7 separate regions of the Homo sapiens genome follow, and all the other regions are linked to region 5. The links are contacts of gene promoters, found by promoter capture Hi-C in blood cells and fetal thymus (Javierre and others, 2016). All regions are on one chromosome and are shown on one strand. Each heading gives the region's core, a stretch centred on a gene start or on the middle of the fragment in contact. The rest is flanking DNA. Distances are from core to core; before and after follow the strand shown.

What was found. Contacts are between HindIII fragments. The CHiCAGO score rates a contact against its expected background, and 5 or more counts as called.
Region 1: a contact is called between a fragment that was not itself captured here and the fragment with the promoter of CRTC3-AS1 in region 5, in 6 of 17 cell types (total B cells, total CD8 T cells, erythroblasts and 3 more). The highest score is 9.5, in total B cells.
Region 2: a contact is called between a fragment that was not itself captured here and the fragment with the promoter of CRTC3-AS1 in region 5, in 1 of 17 cell types (activated CD4 T cells). The highest score is 5.2, in activated CD4 T cells.
Region 3: a contact is called between a fragment that was not itself captured here and the fragment with the promoter of CRTC3-AS1 in region 5, in 1 of 17 cell types (erythroblasts). The highest score is 5.2, in erythroblasts.
Region 4: a fragment that was not itself captured here is called in contact with the fragment with the promoter of CRTC3-AS1 in region 5 in 1 of 17 cell types (activated CD4 T cells); the score reaches 6.0 in activated CD4 T cells.
Region 6: a fragment that was not itself captured here is called in contact with the fragment with the promoter of CRTC3-AS1 in region 5 in 2 of 17 cell types (fetal thymus and non-activated CD4 T cells); the score reaches 5.2 in fetal thymus.
Region 7: a contact is called between the fragment with the promoter of NGRN here and the fragment with the promoter of CRTC3-AS1 in region 5, in 6 of 17 cell types (total CD8 T cells, erythroblasts, naive CD8 T cells and 3 more). The highest score is 7.4, in total CD8 T cells.

Annotation. Positions count from the first base shown.
Region 1 is chr15:90,324,199-90,327,358 of GRCh38, forward strand. No RefSeq gene overlaps it. Among named protein-coding and RNA genes, the nearest start is that of ZNF774, 27 kb to the right of the region's middle. The HindIII fragment of the contact is 8,593 bases long and covers 1-3,160 here.
Region 2 is chr15:90,363,430-90,366,247 of GRCh38, forward strand. No RefSeq gene overlaps it. Among named protein-coding and RNA genes, the nearest start is that of ZNF774, 13 kb to the left of the region's middle. The HindIII fragment of the contact is 7,636 bases long and covers 1-2,818 here.
Region 3 is chr15:90,291,322-90,294,379 of GRCh38, forward strand. It overlaps the pseudogene GOLGA2P8 and the pseudogene RN7SL736P. Among named protein-coding and RNA genes, the nearest start is that of NGRN, 27 kb to the left of the region's middle. RefSeq lists enhancers at 1,892-2,051, 1,895-2,395, 2,396-2,896. The HindIII fragment of the contact is 3,738 bases long and covers 1-3,058 here.
Region 4 is chr15:90,345,051-90,348,316 of GRCh38, forward strand. It overlaps the pseudogene GABARAPL3. Among named protein-coding and RNA genes, the nearest start is that of ZNF774, 5.6 kb to the right of the region's middle. The HindIII fragment of the contact is 2,574 bases long and covers 431-3,004 here.
Region 5 is chr15:90,715,581-90,718,495 of GRCh38, forward strand. CRTC3-AS1 (CRTC3 antisense RNA 1) reads right to left here and starts at 1,560. Exons shown (of 4, transcript NR_120372.1): 1 at 1,401-1,560. BLM (BLM RecQ like helicase) reads left to right here and starts at 1,766. Exons shown (of 22, transcript NM_000057.4): 1 at 1,766-1,860. The HindIII fragment of the contact is 2,609 bases long and covers 1-1,760 here.
Region 6 is chr15:90,235,534-90,238,781 of GRCh38, forward strand. GDPGP1 (GDP-D-glucose phosphorylase 1) reads left to right here. Exons shown (of 4, transcript NM_001013657.3): 3 at 2,959-3,015. It also overlaps a transcript of CIB1 not described here. Among named protein-coding and RNA genes, the nearest start is that of GDPGP1, 2.9 kb to the left of the region's middle. The HindIII fragment of the contact is 2,831 bases long and covers 399-3,229 here.
Region 7 is chr15:90,264,051-90,267,146 of GRCh38, forward strand. It overlaps NGRN (neugrin, neurite outgrowth associated), which reads left to right and starts at 1,622. Exons shown (of 3, transcript NM_001033088.3): 1 at 1,622-1,826; 2 at 2,238-2,348. The coding sequence starts at 1,663. It overlaps TTLL13 (tubulin tyrosine ligase like 13), which reads left to right. Exons shown (of 15, transcript NM_001396017.1): 14 at 1-8; 15 at 670-1,427. The coding sequence ends at 917. It also overlaps a transcript of CIB1 not described here. RefSeq lists enhancers at 634-1,605, 1,093-1,222, 1,583-1,812, 1,606-2,576. The HindIII fragment of the contact is 8,147 bases long and covers 1-2,854 here.

The DNA of each region.
Region 1 (3,160 bases), core at 60-2,559, 390 kb before region 5:
GCTATTATTTTTAGTAATAATAATAATTTAGTAATTTTTGTATTTTGTATTTTCACCATGTTGGTCAGGCTTGTCTTGAACTCCTGACCTCAGGTGATTCACCCACCTCGGCCTCCCAAAGTGCTGGGATTACAGGTGTGAGCCACCACGCCCCGCCACCAAAACCAGTTTTATTGAGGCAGCAGTGTTACCGCTCTGTAACTGCTCCTGCAGGAAGAGCTAGCCCATAGTCAGTGTGTGGAGAGTAGCAGCTAAGGGGCAGTTCCACAGTCATATTTATACCCACTTTTAATTACATGCAAATTAAGGGATGGGTTTTTCAGAAATTTCTAGGAAAAGGGTATAACTCCCAGGTTGTTGCCATGGAAAGGGGCAGTAACTTCTGGGTGTTGCCAGGGCACTGGTAAACTGACATGGCACTGGTGGGCATGTGTTATGGAGAGGTGCTTTCCCCTCTTCCCTGTTTCAGCTAGTCTTCAATCTGGCCTGGAGTACAGGCCTGCCTCCTGCCTCACAACTGCTGCTAATCAGGATGTATACTGAGGGTAACTTGACTCTATGCTCCCAGTTTGCAATATCTAGCTTGGCCCAAATAGATCCTCTGTCTTACTATTGTTATTTATTTTTTTTTAAGAGAAAAGGTCTTGCTCCTGTTGCCCAGACTGGAGTGCAGTGGCAGGATCTTAGCTCACCATAACCTCGAACTCCTGGGCTCAAGCAATCCTCCTGCTTCAGCCTCCTGAGTAGCTGGGACTACAGACATGAGCCACCATGCCTGGCTAATTTTTAAATTTTTTGTACAGATGGGGTTTCACTATGCTGCCCAGGCTGTTCTCAAACTCCTGGCAAGCAATCCTCCCAACTCAGCCTCCCAGAATCCTCGATTACAGGAGTGTACCACTATGCCCAGCCCCAGATAAATTCTCTACTTATATTAATTTTGCTTCAGCTTCCTTCTAGGTTGACAGTTCCCAGTTGACTCTCAAAATGTTTGTGAAATTAAGCAATTTCACTGGGGCATGGTGGCTCACACCTGTAATCCCAGCACTTTGGGAGGCCCAGGTGGGCAGATCTCTTGAGGTCAAGAGTTTGAGACCAGACTGGCCAACATGGTAAAACCCTGTTTCTACTAAAAATCCAAAAAAAAAAAAAAAAAAAAAAAGTCAACCAGGCATGGTAGCGCACGCCTGTAATCCCAGCTACTCGGGAGGTTGAGGTGGGAGAATCACTTGAACCCAAGAGGCGGAGGTTGCAGTGAGCCGAGATCATGCCACTGCCCTTCAGCCTGGGCAACAGAGAGAGACTTCATTTAAAAAAAAAAAGGCAATTTATTTAGTGATGTAAAAGTTTTCATGGATATATAAGGGAATCAGGGAGTCCTCAAGGCGGAAGAAGGTGAAGGAACAGAGCAGGGGAGGAAGAGGAGGGAGGAGAATCTCCCCCAGGCTGAGCAGACCAGGGCACTGAGCTCCAGATGTTTGCACCCCTCCTTTGTTTTCCCCATCTCTTCCCTACTCTCCAGGCCAGTCAGATGGCAAGGCCTGGACAACTGGAAGGAAAGAGAATGAAGGATGGAACTGGGGCGGCAGCTGTGTTGGCCACACAGGCCCTTCTGACTGGGCAGCATGGAGGCCACTTCTGCCAGCCTGAGAGTTGCAGAAGTAGATGGCAGGGAATCCCCTGCTTGGGGATGACACAGTAGGTAGATTAGAAAGTTGGAGAACAGGAACCGTAAGCCACTAGCAGGAACATGGTTGAAGAGCCGACCGTGGAGTCCAGACTGAGGGAGGAGGTAGAAAAGGAACAATAAGCAAGGAAGCAGAGGAGGCTGTGGCAAGGATAATGGGCAGCCCCAGTTATTCTAAGGGAAAAGGAGAGATGGAGTTGAGAGGCTGAAATGGAAGCAGCTCTGTGATGTGGCTGGCCTTTCGAGGTTACTGGAGCAGAGGAGGTAAAGGGACCATGAGCACAGGTGGTGGTGCTGTAATTAATAAGGATGAGGCCGGGCACGGTGGCTCACACCTGTAATCCCAGCACTTCAGGAGGCCACGGCAGGTGGATCACTTGAGGTCAGGAGTTCTAGACCAGCCTGGCCAACGTGGTGAAACCCCATCTCTACTAAAAATACAAAAAATTAGCTGGGTGTGTGGCGGGCACCTATAATCCCAACTACTCAGGGGGCTGAGGCAGGAGAATCACTTGAACCCGGGACACGGAGGTTGCAGCAAGCTGAGATCGTGCCATTGGACTCCAGCCTGGGCGACAATAGCGAAACTCCGTCCCCCCACCAAAAAAAATAATAAAATAAATAAGTATGCTGAAGCCACTGAGGATGAGAGCAAGACACTGGGATAAGGGGAGCCTGGTAGCCAGGTCCTAAAGCCATTCCAGAGGGCTGCAGAATGGCCCAGAGAAGAAGTTCTCAGCTAAGGCATGGCACTAATGACTAATCGATGGTTGTAATCATTTCTTCCTTTTTTTTTTTTTTTGAAACAAGGTCTTGCTCTGTCACCCAGGCTGGAGTGCAGTGGCACAATCATGGCTCACTACAGCCTTGACTCCTGGGTTCAAGCAATCCCCCTTCCTTAGCTTCCCAAAGTAGCATTACAATCAGCACCAGGAATTGAGCCCAGCTGAACTGAGCCACCATACGCATAGCAACTACAATTGAAATCTAGATGGGCGTGCTGTGCGTGAGGCAGGTGTTGGTAGGTCAGGCTACAAATTAAGTCTCAATCAATATTATTTTATTTTATTTTTTGAGACAGGTGAAATCTGAGAACATTATAAGTGAAATAAGCCAGTCAGACAAAGACAAATACTGTACGAGTCAGCTTATATGAGGTACTTAGAGTAGTTAAAATCTTAGAGGCCAGGCATAGTGGCTCACACCTGTAATCCCAGCACTTTGGGAGGCCGAGGTGGGAGGATTGCTTGAGCCCAGCAGTTTGACGCTAGCCTGAGCAACATAGTGAGACCCTCTCTCTCCAAAAATAAAATAAAATAGAATAAAATAAAATAAAATAGTCAGGCATGGTGGCACACGCTTGTAATCCCAGGTATTCCAGAAACTGAGGTGGGAGGATAACTTGAACCTGGGAGGTCAAGGCTGCAGTGAGCTATGATCACACCATTGTATTCCAGCCTGAGCAACAGAGCG
Region 2 (2,818 bases), core at 33-2,532, 350 kb before region 5:
ATTTTTTTTAGTTAATCCAGTGCAGTGGTTCTCAAACTGTGAGCCCAGTCCAGTAGCATCAGCATTATCTGGGAACTTTTTAGAAATGCAGATTCAGGCCGGGTGCAGTGGCTCACACCTGTAATCCCAGCACTCTAGGAGGCCGAGGCGGGTGGACCACCTGAGGTCAGGAGTTTGAGACCAGCCTGGCCAACATGGCAAAACCCCACCTATACTAAAAATACAAAAATTATCCAGGTGTGGTGGCATGTGCCTGTAATCCCACCAATTTGGGAGGCTGAGGCAGGAGAATCACTTGAACCCAGGAAATGGAGGCTGCAGTGAGCTGAGATCACACCTAGTCTCGAACTCCTCACCTCAGGTGATCTGCCTGCCTCAGCCTCCCAAAGTGCTGGGATTACAGGTGTGAGCCACCGTGCCTGGCCACCTATCATTTTGTTTGTTTTTCATGTTGTTCAGCTATTGTAAGATGTGAGGGTTTTTTTGTTTTTTGTTTTTTTTAGGTGAAGTCTTGCTCTGTTGCCCATGCTGGAGTGCAATGGCATGATCTTGGCTCACTGCAACCTCTGCCTCCCAGGTTCAAGCGATTCTCCTGCCTCAGCCTCCGGAGTAGCTGGGATTACAGATGCATGTCACCATGCCCAGCTAATTTTATATGTTAAGTAGAGACGGGGTTTCACCATGTTGGCCAGGCGGGTCTTGACCTCCTGACCTCAGGTGATCCACCTGCCTTGGCCTCCCAAAGTGCTGGGATTACAGGCGAGAGCCACCTCACCTGGCCACCTATCACTTTGATTTTCATGTTGTTTGGCTATGGTAAAATGTGAGCTCTCGAAGGGCAATGTGAGATTTGCTTTGTGGCCCTGCCAATCCCCTCCCTCCTCCCTGTCTTCCTGCCCACCCCCCCCCACTCCCCCGCCAGCCATGAGCAGGGAATATTTCAATGCTATTGCTGAGAGTGGAGGTAACCCTTTCTATAGTTTTCTTTTGTTTCTACCTCATGACTAGATGATTCACTGCTTGAACATGCTCCACACATCCGTTCTTTCTCACTCCAAAATTGAGGTCATCACCAAGCCCCATTAATTTTACCTCCCAGATTCCTCTCGAACCTATCTGTCAAATCTGTCCATCTTCACTGCCACCCTTCAGTACCAAATGACCAGTCTCTTACCTGAATTCCTGTAGCAGCCTCCAAACTGATCTTCCTGATATGATTTTTGCTCTGAAAAAACTGGTTTCACTCACAGAAACCAGAGTGAACTTTTAAAATCCTAAATCGAATCACATCACTTCTCAGCAGCTTTCCATTGCTTTTAGAATGAAGACCCAAATCCTTACCCAGGCCTAAGAGGCCCTTGTGGTTTTGTCCCCTCCCCCTCCATCCTCTTGTGATATCCCCTTCCCTCTCCCTTGCCTCACCTCAGCACTCTTGAGTTCTCTGCTCCTTGGTCATGCCAAGGTTGTGTGCTCTTTAGACCCTTGGTACTAACTGTTCCCTCTGCCCAGAATGTTCCTCGCCCAGTCCTTTGTGTTGCCTCCTATTTGTCAACCAGGTTTCAGCCTAAACCTATCTCCTTAGGAAGACTTTCCCTAACTATCCCATCTAAATTAGTCACCCTCCATCACATTATCCTCTTTTTTCATCAAAGTCCTTACACCTGTCTGGCAATTTCTTATTAATTGATTTGTTTTTGGTAAACTCCACGAAAGGTGGGAGTCATTTCTCTTGTTTCCATTCTTTCCACAGCACTTAGAACAGTGCCTGGCACATGGTAGGTGCTCAATATGTGTTTACTGGATGAATTAATGAGTGCATGCTCATGGGCAAGGATCTCATTGTGCTGGAAAAGCAGCAGAGTGAGACAAAACTGGACAGGTGAGTGAAGGTCACACCAAGAAGGTTCTTAGCTGCCAAACTAAAGGGTTTGGATCTTACTCTCTGGAGAAAAGGGTGTAGCTAGTGGTTTTATAGGAGAGGAGAGGCGCGATCCGCACTTGAGAAGGTCAATTTGGCCGCTGTGTGTAGGTCATATTACGGAGAAAAAAACTAAAGGCTTTGAGACAATCCATGATGTAAAGGGCTTAGCACAGTGCCCAGCACGCAGTAGGTCTCCAGCGAGTCGTTATCACCAAGCACCAGGGCAGGCACCACAACAAAAAGATAAGATCCCTAACCCTTCTTTTACCTCGAAATAATTCCTCCTAGACCCTATCATCGCATTCCTTCTCTTCCCCTTTTGTCAAACTTCCACTCACATGTAGATATTCTCAGGGTTATCATGCCTAGGCCTTTTTAATAGGGCCACTTACCCTAGCATGCTTCTACAACTGGACCCTCAAAGGTCTTTTAGGGCTGAGTGTGGTGGCTCACACCTGTAATGCCAGCATTTTGGGAGGCCGAAGCCAGAGGACTGCTTGAGCCCAGAGGTTCAAGACCAGCCTGGGCACCATAGCCAGACCCTGTCTCTACAAAAAATAGTTTCAACAAATTAGCCAGGCATGGTGATGTGCGCCTGTCATCCCAAGTACTTGGGAGGCTGAGGTGGGAGGATTGCGGATTGCCTGAGCCCAGGAGTTCAAGGCTGCAGTGAGCTGTGATCATACCACCGTACTCCAGATTGCGTGACAGAGCTAGAACTTGTCTCTTAAAAAAAAAAAAAGACTTAATTTCCACATCTGAAGGCCTCTTGTTAGTCTTCTTCTGATTCAACAACTCTTTACTGTTTGATGCCATTTACATATGTTTATTATTTTTTAGAGATGGGGTCTCATTCTTTTGCTGAGGCTGGAGAGCAGTGGTGCGATCATGGCTCAC
Region 3 (3,058 bases), core at 559-3,058, 420 kb before region 5:
GTAGGAGAATAAAAGAAACGTTTTTCCAAAAAAAGAGAAATCATTGTGATTATTTTATCTTATTGGAATGTTGGATACTATAGCCTGCTTCATTAATCATCAAGCATGCTATGGATTTTCCATTTTTATAGGATCTGTATCTCAGTTAAGGTAATACTGGTAATTATTGTACTCCATTTGAAGATGAAAAATATAGGCCAAAATTATAGACCTTGCATAGAAGCTGGATAATGGAGACAGCTCTGGAGGAACACGTAGATACACACACACAGACACACATATATATAAAGAATACACACATACATTTTTTAAAGTTTATTTTTTACAGTTTTAAAGGTTTTAAAGCAAAAGCCGGCCCCTCCCCTCTGAGTGGGCGGCCCCTCCCTCTCTCTGAGTGGTCGGGTACAGCGGTTGCATGGGCAGCTTTCCTTGTGAACCACAGGTCCTTCTGGACACGGTGCTACCTGGCCACGCCTCCTTTCCCTTTCATATTTCTCATTGACCAATGGGCTTGGAGCATTAAGGCCACGCCCCTATTCTGCATTCTAGTGGGGCCCCGGTTATGCCTCTTCTGGCTCAGTTGCACAGCTGCCTGGTAGGTGACTGGAGGCATTCATCAGTGCTCACTGGGATTTCACTGATGTGGCCCAACCCCGCCTCCCTCCACACCCCATGATGTCAGAAAAAACACGACAGGGCAAATGGGCCGCAGCCAGGAAAAAGGTAAAACGCACCAGGTCATGGCCCCCAACCCAGCCACAGATCCCCTCCGACAACAAGACCGTTGCCGGAGTCCATACCACCCCTGAGGCACACTGGACTGGGCCCCCCAACCCCAGCCCTCCTCCCTAGCCCGCCAGGCCTTTGTTTCCCCACCTGTAAAATGGGGCAGTGTAGCCCTCACATGAAATGGTACTTCTAAGGCACCTGTGAGCCGGAGCCCTGCTCTGATGGCTGTGGGAGAGAGGGGATGATTTTTCTAACCTCCCTCCACCCTTCCCAGTGCTATGGGAGGCAGACACCAAGTTCTGGGGTCTCCAGTTGCAGCGGGTGGCTGCTGATTGCTTCTCTCTGTCCAGAACGAGAACAAGAGCGCACTGCAGTTGGAGCAGCAAGTAAAGGAGCTGCAGGAGAAGCTGGGCTAGCTGAAGGGGACGGTAACCTCCGACCCGTCCAAGAAGGTCTGGGAGGCGGGCACCAGCCTCTGGGGAGGGGAGGTGCCAGGCCAGAGGCAGCTGCAGCCTGGGGGCAGGTGACCCCAGCACCCTCCAGGGCAGTCCTATGACTGTTTCTTGCTTCCTGCCCTCTGACTTTTAGAGGTGGGTAGCCCTGGCTCCTCCCAGGTCTGGACATCATCATCCCAGCTAGAGGCATGGAGCCCTCCAATCACAGAGGAAGAGACAGTGGCATAAGAGGCTCCTTATACCAGGTGCAGTGGCTCACACTTGTAATCCCAGCATTTTGGGAGGCTGAGGCAGGAGAATCACTTGAGATCAGGAGTTTGAGACCAGCCTGGCCAAAATGGCAAAACCTTATCTCTACAAAATTACAAAAAAAAAAAAAAAAAAAAATTAGCCGGGCATGGTGGTGCATGCCTGTAATCCCAGCTACTCAGGAGGCTGAGACATGAGAATCACTTGAGCCCAGGAGGTGGAGGTTGCAGTGAGCTGAGATCGCACCACTGCACTCCAGCCTGGGACACAGAGTGACACTGTCCCAAAACAAAATATGAAAAAAACCAAAACGACTCCTTAGATTCAAACTGGATTCCGGCCTCGGTTCCACTGGTCATCATTCAACTACTTTCCATCTCTAAGTCTCTGTTTCTTTAACTTCAAAAGGAAGTGAGCTTTTTCTTCGCAGAGGTGCCGAGGGTTAAATGAGATAATACGTGGAAACATTAGGCATGTAGCACACTTAGCAGATGGTGGTTGGCTCCCTCTGCTTTTCCACCAGTCTGTGGCCTACAGTTTAAATGGCTGGAAGAAGAACGTGAGATTTGAGGCTGGGGAAGGAGGCATGGGGTTCTAGGCAAGGGAGGCAGTCTCTTAGGCCTGGAGCAAGGGGCCAGGGGCCTGGGCAGGCCACAGAGCCCCACAGTGCCCTCACTACCCTATTAATGGGCCAGGAATCTGGAAGCCAGCCACCAGCTGCCCTCATGCCCAGGGACTTCCAGCAGGTGGAGCTGAAGAGCCAAGAGGCTCAGAGTCTGCAGCAGCAGCGAGGCCAGTACCTGGGTCACCTGAAGCAGTACGTGGCCACTTATCAGCAGCAGGTGGCAGCCTATCAGCAGCTGACCTCTGAGAAGGAGGCGCTGCACAGGCAGTTACTGCTGCAGACCCGGCTCATTGGACCAGCTGCAGCAGCAGGAAGCTCAGGGCAAAGCAGTGGCTAAGATGGCCCGCCAAAAGTTGCAGGAGACCCAGGGGAGGGAGTTGCTGAGGACGGGGCCCCAAGAGGGACAACCTGGCAACCTCTGTGCCTTCTCACCCTCTTTCCTGGCATCTCAGGAGCACCTGGAAGCTACCAGCCAGCAGAACCAGCAACTACAGGCCCAGTTGAGCCTCATGGCTCTCCCTGGGGAAGGTACGGGACACCACTCAGAGGAAGAGGAGAGAGCCCCAGGAGGAAAGGGGGACTGTTAGCACTGTAGGATTGAGGAGATGGAAGAGACCTTTAAGACAGCTGGCCATTATGCTGACTGGGTGTCTGCACTAAGTTTGGCATCAATATGGTGACCTCCTGGGAGCGGGGGACCACCAGGTTGCCTAAGGATGGGAGAACTGGCCCAGGTCAGAAATGGAGCAGGTCAGAATTCCTGCACCAATCGGTAGTGGGACTGTGCCTGGGCAATATAGCAAGATCTTGGTTCTTAAAAGTAAAAATAAAGAACAGCTCATTCCCCTCTGGGGAGGGGCTGGCTCAAGGTTACACAGTGAGTGTGGGGGCAGAGGTGAGCCCACAGTACCTCCCTTGTTGGGTTGTCTGAGGACCCCTCTGGCCACCCCCCCACAGGAGATGGAGGAGGAGGCGCCTCAGCCCATGCCGAACATCCCAG
Region 4 (3,266 bases), core at 468-2,967, 370 kb before region 5:
TCACAAGGACAATGTCCTAAAGTCCTCTGTAGTCCCTGTGGTAGTCAGCCTCTAAGGTGGCCCACTATGATGGTTAATTTTAGGTGTCAGCTGGGTGTGGTGGTTCAAGCCTGTAATCCCAGCACTTTGGGAGACTGAGGCAGGGGGCTCACTTGAGCCCAGGAGTTCAAGACCAGCCTCAGCAACATAGCAAGACCCCCTCTCTATAAAAAATTTTAAAATTAGCCAAGTGCAGTAGCACATGCCTATAGTCCTAGCTGCTTGGGAGGCTGAGGTGGAAGGATCACTTGAACCTGGGAGTTTGAGGCTGCAATGAACTATGATCACACCACTGCATGGAAGCCTGGGTAAGAGAGTGAGACCCTGTCTCTAAAAAAAAAGTTTCAGGTGTCAACTTGACTAGATTAAGGAATACCCAGATAGCTGAGAAAGCTTTATAGTTATGCCTGTAAGTGTGTTTGGAAGAGACTGGCATTTAAATCAGTAGACTGATAAGGAAGATCTGCCCTCACCCAGGGTGGATGGTAGCATCCACTCAGCTGAGGGCCCAGATAGTGCAAAAGGGCAGAGGAAAGGCGAATTTTCTCTCTCTCTCTTCTGAGCTGGGACACCCTTCTCCTGATGTTAGACATCAGAACTCCAGGTTCTTCAGCCTTCAGACTTCAGGACTTGCACCAGCAGCCCCTCAAGTTCTTGGGCCTTTGAACTTAAACTGACTCACACTACTGGCTTCCCTGGTTCTCTATATCTATATATCCTATTGATTCTTTCTCTCTGGAGAACCCAGACTAATACACTCACTGTGATCCTTGCCTCCAAGTATTCATACCTTTGTGTAGTCCCCTCCCACACTGTACCAGGGTTGGTCTGTGTGACCAAAGGAGTATGGCAGAAATGATGGTCTATCACTTCCAAGGTTAGATTGCAGCTTCTGCTTCTTTCTCTCAATCACTCACCCTGGGGAAGCCAGCTGACACGTTGTGAGGAGAAGCTACACGTGAGGAAACAGTCACATGAGGGAGCTTGGGAGCAAGCTGATCATCCAGCCCCAGTCAATCCTACAGATAACTGTAGTCCCAGCCAGTGTCTAGACTGCAACCTTGTGAGAGACCTTCAATTAGAGATACTCACCTAGGCTGTTCCAGATTCCTAATCAACAGAAATAAAATAATTTTTTTTGAGACAGGGTTTCACTCTGTCTTCCAGGCCAGAGTGCAGTGGTGCCATCCTGGCTCACTGCAGCCTCAATCTCCCCAGGCTCAAGTGATCCTCTTACCTCAGCTTCCCAGGTAGCTGAGACTACACGTACGCATCACCAAACCCAGCTGATTTTTTTATTTTTAGTAGAGACGAGGCCTTGCCATGTTGCCCAGGCTGGTCTTGAACTCCTGGGCTCAAGCAATCCTCCTGCCTCAGCTTCCCAAAGTGCTGGGATTACAGGCATAAGCCACTGCACCTGGCAAATGTTTTGTTTTGTTTTTTAAGGTAAGCAATTATTTCATTTCCTTGGTGAAGGGGTGGCCTGCCCCTCCACACCTGTGGGTATTTCTAGTCGGGTGGGACAAGAGACTGAGAAAACAAATAAGACACAGAGACAAAGTATAGAGAAACAACAGTGGGCCCAGGGGACCGGCACTCAACACACCAAGGACCTGCACTGGCACCGGCCTCTGAGTTCCCTCAGTTTTTATTGATTATTATTTTCATTATTTCAGCAAAAAGGAATGTAGTAGGAGAGCAGGGTGATAATAAGGAGAAGGTCAGCAAAAAACATGTGAGCAAAGGAATCTATGTCATAATTAAGTTCAAGGGAATGTACTATGACTGGACGTGCACGTAAGCCAGATTTATGTTTCTCTCCACCCAAACATCTCAGCGGAGTAAAGAATAACAAGGCAGCATTACTGCAAACATATCTCGCCTCCCACCATAGGGCGGTTTTTCTCCTATCTCAGAATTGAACAAATGTACAATCGGGTTTTATACCGAGACATTCAGTTCCCAGGGGCAGACAGGAGACAGTGGCCTTCCTCTATCTCAACTGCAAGAGGCTTTCCTCTTTTACTAATCCACCTCAGCACAGACCCTTTACGGGTGTCGGGCTGGGGGACAGTCAGGTCTTTCTCATCCCACGAGGCCATATTTCAGACTATCACACGGGGAGAAAACTTGGACAATACCCCGCTTTCAAGGGCAGAGGTCCCTGCAGCTTTCCACAGTACATTGTGCCCATGGCTTATTGAGACTAGAGAATGGCGATGACTTTCACCAAGTATACTGCTTGTAAACATTTTGTTAACAAGGCACGTCCTGCACAGCCCTGGATCACTTAAACCTTGATTTTATACAACACATGTTTTTGTGAGCTCCAAGTTGGGTCACAGTGGTTGGGTCAAAGTGGCTGGGGCAAAGCTACAAATTAACAACATCTCAGCAAAGCAATTGTTTAAAGTACAGGTCTTTTTCAAAATGGAGTCTCTTATGTCTTTCCTTTCTACATAGACACAGTAACAGTCTGATCTCTCTTTTCCCTTCACTTGGCCTGACAGCATTGACTTCATTACACAAGAACTTGCAGCTGACAGAACTGACACACAGATTTCCCCCAAGAGGAAGAACCCTTTTCATTTGCAGAGATGAATTGAAATGTCATGTCTGAGTGCAATTCCTGCTCCCCACTCCCACCCCACAAAATCCTATAAGTGATAATAAATCAATAAAATCCCCATGATTTACTAAAAGTCATCCCTGCAAACCTTTCTAACTAGCAGCTGCAGTGGATAACCAAGAAGGGAAGCAGCTGGCCATCACATAGCATTCCTGTGAGTGTGAGAATGAAGGGACAGCAGCATGGGAGCGAGAATCCTGAATGAGTGAGAGGTATAGATAATCTACCTCACTTCATACCTGCCCCTTCCCTACATAAGACATCTCTGTCCTGATACATGGAAAATACTAGAGGAGATGGTAGAAGTGGTTTTAGTCTGCAATTGGAAATGCCTGAAGCTTATTAAATTCCAAGGTAGGGGTGAGATGAGGAGCACCAGAGAGAAAGAGCAGGTTAGACAGAGATGCTCAACTCACTCTGTCAATTCCAGTTTAATGCTATTTAACAACAAAATTATCTTCTTAATCATAACCACCCTCATGCCTAACCCCTATTTTCCAAAGATAAGAGATCCCTGTCTAAATTTCTGGGTTGGTGTCTACTGCCGCCCCTGGGGTGGTACTGTGATGTTTGTGAGTGAGATTGCAACTGGGATGGG
Region 5 (2,915 bases), core at 310-2,809:
TTCTGCCAGTTTTTGTATATATTTGTAGTTATTTCATTATTCCTCATTTGACTATGTGTGTGGTACTTTGAATTTTCCATTGAAGCAGTTGTAATCTTTCTGGATATCTCATTCATTAATGAGTTAAATAAAATCTCTAACATTTATTTTATATCTGTATTATATTTGATATTAAAATTATTCTTCAACAGTAGTATACAGTTATATGAATAAGCTGCAATTTATCTATTCATCTATTGGTGGACATCTGGGTTTTTTCCCTTTGGCTATTATGAATAAAGCTGCTATGAGTCTTTTGGTGAATAAAGGCATTCATTTTTTGGGGTAAATATCTAGAAATGGGATTTCTGGGGTATAGGGTAGGGGTAAATTTGATTTCAGTAGAGACTGATGTTTCCAAAGTGGTTGTACCATTTTACACTCCCATCAACACTGTATGAGAGTCCCATTTCTGCATCTTTGCAACTAAGGGAATTGTCAGTCTTTTCATTTCAGCTATTCTATGGAGTGTTTAATAGTATCATATTTTGGTTTCAATTTACCATAGAAGATTTTCAGGAGGGAGGTAACTTGAACAGATTTTTACATTTTAGAAAACTCTTTCTGCGTATTATGTGGAGAATGATTATTTGTATACCAAAGTTCATAGCAGCATTATTCACAATAGCCAAAAGGTGGGAATAACCAAGCATCCATTTATATGGATGAATGGATAAACAAAATGTAGTATACATGTATAATGGAATATTATTTAGCCTCAAGAAGGAAGAAATTCTGATACATGCTACAACATAGATGCTCCTTGAAGACATTATGCTAAGTGAAATAAGCCAATCAGAAAAGAGCAATTATTGTATGATTCAATTTATATGCGGTACCTCGCACTTACAGACAGAAAGTGCAATATCGGCTATAAGGGGTTGTGAGAAACGGGTAACGGGGAGTTACTGTGTAACAGGCAGATTTTCTATTTGGGATAATGAAAAAGTTCTGGAGATGGATAGTGGTGATGGTTTCACAACAATGTGAATGTACTTAATGCCAGTGAACTGTACACTTAAAAATGGTGAATTTTATGTTAGATAGATTTTATCACACACACAAAGAGGAGGGAGGGCGGGAGGGAAGGAGAGAGGGAAGGAAGTAGAGAGGGGAGAAGAGAGGAAGAAAGGAAAGAAAGTAAGATCTGGCATCACAGGGCCCACATTCCCGCGTGTCAGCAATAGGCTGAAACAGAAGCATGGTTTCTCACGTGTCCATGGAGGCATCTGAGTGTGTGCCCACTTTCCCGGTTCAATGACAATTTGCACCTGCTCGTGTAGAGGGGTACGGGTGAAACAGAGACCAGTATTATTAAGGGGATGGAGAGGAGAGACCGCCAAAACATCGCAGAGACACACCGTCGGAACCAAGAGAATGGGGTGCAGACGCCTGGCTTGGCCTGTGGGAACTGGCAAGTCTCAGCTCTCAAACGCCCGGGCTTTTCAACCCGCCACAGCCGGGTTCCAGCTGCCTACTTCCTTTAAAGCCTTCACCGACTCTAAAACACCAAAAACAAAGACCCAACTAGCTCCGGAAGCCCGAGATGTAACCGTAGTCATCTGACCCTCCCGTCCGGACTCTGATTGGGCTTTGGAGATACGCGTCCCTCCCGGCGCTGTACGGCGACCCCGCCCCAGCAGCCTGAGGGGGCGGGAACAGATGTCCGAGTGCGACAGTATTGGTCGGCTTCCCCAGGAAGCAGCCAATCGGAATAGGCAAGCTTCCGGCGGGAAGTGAGCCAGGGCTTGGCGCGGCGGCCGTGGTTGCGGCGCGGGAAGTTTGGATCCTGGTTCCGTCCGCTAGGAGTCTGCGTGCGAGGTGAGTACCGCGCGCGTAACTACGGGTCGGTCCGCATTGATCTAGCCCTGCTCTGGCGGCCCGGCCCGGAGCTGGAGGCCGCTCGGGTTCTTCCGTTTCCTGCACTGGTTCGCCTCGGCCCGCTGAGTCCTCTAGTCTGGCCAACATCCTGGGAGGACAGCAGATACATAAATACGTTCCCAAATGGGGAAACAGAGGCCCGGGGCGGGGGCGAACTCTGCCAAGGTCTCCCGGGGCGTCGGAGGCCGAGCATGGGCTAGGACCTGGCATGTTGTTGCCCATATACTCCAGTGCGTAACATGATGCCCTGCACAGAGTAATCCCAGCCCAGACCTCTGGCACTACTACCTCCGTGTCCCTCCTGAGGAACAACGAAAACACTTTGTACTTTTTCTGTGGCCTTCCATAATCACGAGCTGGGCTACTCTTGTTTTTGAGTGTCTACTGTGTGCCATGTTCCTGGCACCCTTGATCTTACAACTGTAGCTTTACGATATCCCAGCAAAGCGAAGTGCTTAAGAATACTGCATCAGATTGCTTGGGTTCGAATTCTGGCTCCTTCACATTTAGCTCTGTGTCTACTGCACGTTACTGAAACACTAAGTGTCTTGGTTTTCGTCTGTCATATGGGGGAAATGGTCTCTTCTACTTCCTGGCGTTTTTGTTAGGATTAAACGACTTAATATATGCAATAATAAATGCTTCGAAGGCTACCTGTTACATAGTACACAGTAAGGGTTCTGTTATCATTACCCAGAGAAGCGGATGAAATTGTCCCCATTTTAGACATGGAGAATCTGAAGTACAAAGAGGTTGTCTCCGTACAGAAAGAGCATTTGGTGATTAAGTGCTAGAGATACAGGATTTGAACTAAGCGCCTGATTTTAAAGTATGTCCCACAACATTAGGCTTTCTCCTATAGCCCTCACCTGTCCTTAGGTCACACAGAACTTTAGGTACCTCATGGCGTGAGATGGAGCAGGTGACTGACAGCTCCTTGTGCCACCCATGCAGATAAATAACACTGGTGTGTCACTGTCAAGATTAAGGGACAG
Region 6 (3,248 bases), core at 564-3,063, 480 kb before region 5:
AATAACTAGGGTATAGGCCCATCCCAACCTGATCATTTTTCTCTTTTTTTTTGAGACAGAGTCTCGCTGTGTCGCCTAGGCTGGAGTGCAGTGGCATGATCTTGGCTCACTGCAAGCTCCGCCTCCTGGGTTCACGCCATTCTTCTACCTTAGCCTCCCCAGCAGCTGGGACTACAGGCACCCGCCACCACACCCGGCTAATTTTTTTGTATTTTTGGTAGAGACGGGGTTTCACCCTGTTAGCCAGGATGGTCTGGATCTCCTGACCTCGTGATTCGCCCACCTCGGCCTCTCAAAGTGCTGGGATTACAGGCGTGACCCACCGTGCCCGGCCGATCATTTTTCTCTTAATAGCAGGCTCTTTCTGTCCGAGAAAGAGTTAGTCTTCTGTTAGTAAAAGCTTAGGCAAAAAGCAAGAAGCTGTCATTATGTCTCCTGTACTAAATAGACCTTGTTTGCCTCTTACAAGCCAAGGCGAATACCTGGACTGCATGGTAATAAGTATCTGTCTTCTTTTTTTTTGAGACAGAGTTTCACTCCTGTTGCCCAGGCTGGAGTGCAATGGCATGATCTCAGCTCACCGCAACCTCCGCCTCCTGAGTTCAAGCAGTTCTCCTGCCTCAGCCTCCTGAATAGCTCGGATTACAGGCATGTGCCACCACACCCAGCTAGTTTTGTATTTTTAGTAGAGACGGGGTTTCTCCATGTTGGTCAGGCTTGTCTCGAACTCCCAACCTCAGGTGATCGCCTGTCTTGGCCTCCCAAAGTGCTAGGATTACAGGCGTGCGCCACTGCACCCAGCCATAAGTATCTCTTTATAGTGAAGACATGAGAGTCAGCTTTGTGCCTGGTGACCAGCTGTGATCTAGATCTCTCAGTCACTTCACTTGGCTCTGAACCCTTCATGGAACAACCTTTGGTTTTCATTTTGCTTCCTGATTCATTTTGTACACTGACCAGCCAGCAAGAACCTTTTGTGCCATTTGGCATATTTCTCATTGTAAATTATTTTTATTTGTGAGATGGAGTCTCACTCTGTCACCAGGCTGGAGTACAGTGGTATGATCTTGGCTTACTGCAACCTCTGCCTCCCAGGTTCACCTGATTCTCATGCCTCAGCCTCCTGAGTAGCTGGGATTACAGGAGTGCACCACCACGCCCAGCTAATTTTTGTATTTTTTTTTAGTAGAGACGGGGTTTCACCATGTCGGCCAGGATGGTCTCGATCTCCTGATCTCTTGATCCGCCTCCCTCAGCCTCCCAAAGTGCTGAGCCACCACGCCCGGCCTCTCATGGTAGATTATTAAATGGGCAGTCTGAATCATTTGGTAGTCCTCGGTGAATCTGGTTAGCATATTGTCCCTCCTGTACCTGATCAACTCTTGGTACAGTGATAAAACCGAGCTGCTGATATACTTTTATTTTTTATTTTATTTATTTTTTTGAGACAGAGTCTCACTCTGTCACCAGGCTGGAGTGCAGTGGTGCGATCTTAGCTCACTGCAACCTCTGCCTCCCAGATTCAAGCGATTCTCCTGCCTTAGCCTCCCGAGTAGCTGAGATTACAGACGCCCACTACCACACCTGGCTAATTTTTTTGTATTTTTAGTAGAGACAGGGTTTCACCATATTGGCCAGGCTGGTCTCGAACTCCTGACCTCGTGATCCACCCACCTTGGCCCCCCAGAGTGCTGGGATTACAGGCGTGAGCCACCGTGCCCGGACTTTATTGTAATTTTCTTTTTTTCCCTTTTTTTTTTTTTTTTTGAGATGGAGTCTTGCTCTGTCACCAGGCTGGAATGCAGTGGCACCACCTCAGTTCACCACAACCTCCACCTCCCAGGTTCAAGTGATTCTCCTGCCTCAGCCTCCCAAGTAGCTGGGACTACAGGTGTGTGCCCACCACCACGCCCAGCTAATTTTTGTATTTTTAGTAGACACAGGGTTTCACCATGTTGGCCAGGATGGTCTCGGTATCTTGACCTCGTGATTCACCTGCGTCAGCCTCCCAATGTGCTGGTCCAGGGATTACAGGTGTGAGCCACCGCACCCAGCCCCTCATTGTGATTTTGATTTGCCTTTTCTTATTGATTAATGACGTTAAACATCCCAAATGTGCTTGTTGGCCATCTTTATATCTTATTTGAAAAAATGTCTAAGATTATCTCTTTTTTTTCTCCTTTTTTTGGTTTTGTATTATTTTTATTATCTCATTTTAAATTTTTTCGCCTGTCAGATAAGATTCTCTTTTATTAGAATAAGATACTACATTAGTCAGGCCTGGTGCAAGTGCCTGTGGTCCCAGCTACTTGGGAGGCTGAGGTGGATGGATTGCTTGAGTCTGGGAGGCAGACATTGCAGTAAGGTGAGAATAAGATACTACATTTGATCATCAAAATTATGCTTAGCTTCACTTTTTTGTTGTTGTTGTCTTTTACCTTGCAGCTCCAGCTCAAAGGATTAGCTTCACTTTTAAACATTTTTGGCCAGGTGCGGTGGCTCACGCCTGTAATCCCAGCACTTTGGGAGGCCAACGCAGGTGGATCACCTGAGGTCAGGAGTTCGAGACCAGCCTGGCCAACATGGTGAAACCTGGTCTTTCCTAAAAATACAAACATTAGCCGGGCGTGGTGACACACACCTGTAGTCCCAGCTACTCAGGAGGCTGAGGCATGAAAATCACTTGAACCTGGGTGGTGGAGGTTGCAGTGAGCCAAGATCGTGCCACTGCACTGCAGCCTGGCTGACAGAGTGAGATTCTGTCTTTAAAAAAAAAATTGACCATCTGAACCATTTCTAAGTGTATAGTCGTGTTAAGCACATTCACGATGTTGTGCGGCAAATCTCCAGGACGTTTTCATCTTGCAAACTAAGCCTCAATACTCATTAAACTTAGCTTGACTTTTGATATGTAATTTTTTATATGTTTTGTTTCCTTTCTGTTTTATTAACATGAAGTTTCTGGAGCAGCAGAGCTGAAGGAACCCAAACTTGGACTGAAGTGACTCTACTAAGGTAATGCCTCCTTTTGACATCCTATCTGGGCCAGTGGCAGACCCCTCTCCCTGACAGTGCTGGGTCCAGGGCTCCAGGCAGCCAGGGGAAGATGAAGACAGGCACTAATTTCCCCCTTGAAAGGTTGGCCCTGGACACTTACCCACACATCAGTGCCATCCTCACCCAAATGTTTCTATGCATGACCAATTGGAATCACTATGGAACATGGAAAAGCTTTTCCCACAAAAGAA
Region 7 (3,096 bases), core at 372-2,871, 450 kb before region 5:
CACTAGCCGTAAGTATGCAAAACTAGCTTTGGTCATTTTGACATATGTAAATCCCACTAGCAAGCATAGAGCTTGGATGCCCCTAAAATATAATATGGCACTTCCACCAGTGTAAGAATGGGGAAGTTAGGGTACCCATTTATTTACTCCTTTTTTTTTGAGACAAGGTCACGCTCTGTCGCCAAGGCTGAAGTACAATGGCTTGATCTCACTTCACTGCAAACTCCACTCACGGGCTCAAGTAATTCTCCTGACTCAGCCTCCTGAGTAGCTGGGACTATAGGCACACACCACCATGCTCGGCTAACTTTTGTATATTTTGTTTTTGCCACGTAGCCCAGGCTGGTCTTGAACTCCTGATCCACCTGAATCAGTCTCCCAAAGTGCTAGGATTACAGGTGTAAGCCACCGCACCAGGCCTATTTAATCCTTTCTGTACACTAGACCCTGGTGATAGAAATGGCAGAAATACAGTCCCAGCACTCAAGAGGTAATAGGAACATGGACAAAAAGACATACCATACCAATTACAATACAGTGTGGGAAAGACAGTGGAGGGAAGCATGAGATGCCCTTCCTCTGTGTTGGTAATTGGGCCACAGTTGGGAAAGAGGTGAACAAATCTCTTCTGTGAATACCAACTCAGGGACATCCATGTTTCCACTGCAGAAGGACAAGCCAGCAGAAGGCTAGAAGCCATAAACCGAGTCCTGGCAGGATCAGTGCCACCCACTTTAACCCCAAAGCAGGGCTATTTTCTGCAACCGGAAAGAGTGGCATCTGACTCATGGACTGAATGCACCTTGCCCTCCATGGTAAACTCTGAACACAGAGCAGCCAAGGTTCCCCTCTGCCCTGCGTCTGCACCCATGCTGCAGCGTTCCAGAGCACTCCTCAACATCAATCAGTTCAGGTAAAAGCAGGAGGGAAGCACTCTACCTCTCCTGGATAACCTCCCCAGGTTTCCAAAGGGCATTAAATCTTTGCTAAATGAATGACTGCCACCAAGTTCCACTTTGAAAAGCCCTGCCCAGGAACCCCATTTGTATAAGGCAAAATACAAAGACACCAAGAATTCCTCAATACCCTAAGATTAATTGGGGATCGGTAAAGACTAGAAGATGAAGAGGCGCCAAGGCCAGCCATGTACTCATTTCTGCTCATCAAGCCTTAGCCTGGGTTTATCGCTAGGTGATGGGTCTGAACCCTAGGTGCGGCCCGGGGCTGGAGGCCATCCAGGAGACAATGAGCCCCTTTCCCAGAGAAGCCGAGTGCCCAAGGCACTGGGCTGTCGCCGTCAGAAGACTGCCGAGCGGAAGCCCTGCCCACCGAGGTGGCGGAGACAGGCAGGCCTGGGCAGCCGCTGGGGCGGAGGGACGGCTCTTGGAAACGGAATCCGTACTTTAATTAAAGTTTATGCAGTTTTCCAGGAGCGTCCTGTACCTCATTTCGGCCCTCACGTTTCAGGGAAGCCCTCTCCACAGTTACAGGCAGAAAGGGTGGGCCACTGAGCAGCGTGAGCCCAGATCTTACCCCCACCAAGTGAAGCGGGAAATAACTTGCTACTACCCAGCCTCCGGCCCGCCCCTTCCACTTCCGGTCTTACCCGGCTACTTCCGCTGCTGTTTCGTAGCCGACTGCTGAAGGCTGGTTTGCGTCGACATGGCGGTTACCCTGAGTCTCTTGCTGGGCGGGCGCGTTTGCGCCGCCGTCACTCGCTGTGGGTTCGCGACCCGGGGGGTGGCGGGCCCAGGCCCTATTGGCCGGGAGCCGGACCCCGATTCCGACTGGGAGCCGGAGGAACGGGAGCTGCAGGAGGTGGAGAGGTACCGGCTTCTCCCCGGGCCCTCAGCTTGAAGCAGGGCCTCGTGCCCCGGCGCTCCAGGCCGCGCCCCCTTGGCGCCGGGTGTCCTGCCGCTGCTTGCGCAGCGGCCCTTGTTTCTTCTTACCCGTTGTTAGGGGCGCAGCGTCAGGTGTTCAGCTCCCCTGGGACCACTGGTCCCTTCATTAGTGACGTATTTCATCATCAGTTTAGAGAGTTCGGCATGCTTACAGGCAGTTATTGTTCTAGGTGTTAGCTTTCTGGGTGTACGGAGCAGCTCTAAGCCGGCAACATGGCCCGGTTGCCCTTGCGATCAAAGAGAAGAGGGCTGGGCGCTCCATGATTTAGCCTGAGGCTCTTCAAACATCCATTCTGCTTCCACGCATGGCTTCTGCCATTGGTTCTCTTCCCCCAGCACCCTGAAACGACAGAAACAAGCAATCCGATTCCAGAAAATTCGGAGGCAAATGGAGGCGCCTGGTGCCCCGCCCAGGACCCTGACGTGGGAAGCCATGGAGCAGATACGGTGAGACTCAGGATACCTTGTTTGTATCCGCTGTGATGAGAAGTGAAGGATGCTGGAGCCCAGAAACGGGTTTGGCTTTTTTGATACTGCTTTTATATTTTCGTTTACTTTTTGTCGTTGAAATTTATTATCAGAAAAGTAGAGTAATATAACGAACTTCCCTAACCCTGTCATTATCTAGATTTAATAGTGTTTTGTTTTGTTTTTTAAAGAGACGGGGTTTCGCTATCGCCTCGAACTCCAGACCTCAAGTGATTCTCCCGCCTCGGCCTCTCAGAGTGCTGGGATTACAGGCATGAGCCACTGCGCCCCGCCTGGTTTTAATAGTTTTTAACGTTATGACGTGGTTGGTTCATTTTTACTGAAATTTTTAAATAGTAAATCGCAGACATCACAACATTTAACCCTTGAATGTAGGTTGTGACGTTCCCAACCTAAGGTACAGGGATGCTGGTGCTTCCATAGGTAGGTGCATTTTTCTGAAGACAGGATCTATAATTTAGGAAAGCTTAAAAGAGTTTTTAAGTTTTTTTGTTTTGAGTAGGTAAAGTATTACATATGGCTCAACCTAACAGTATAACATGGTATACACATTGAGAATTATTTGTCCCACCCACTCTCCTGTGGGTACTTTTTTTTTTTTTTTTTGGTAGTTGGGGGTCTCACTCTGTCGCCAAGGCTGGAGTACAATGATGTGATCACCGGTCACTGCAGCCTCTACCTCCTGGGCCCAAGCCATCCTCCCACT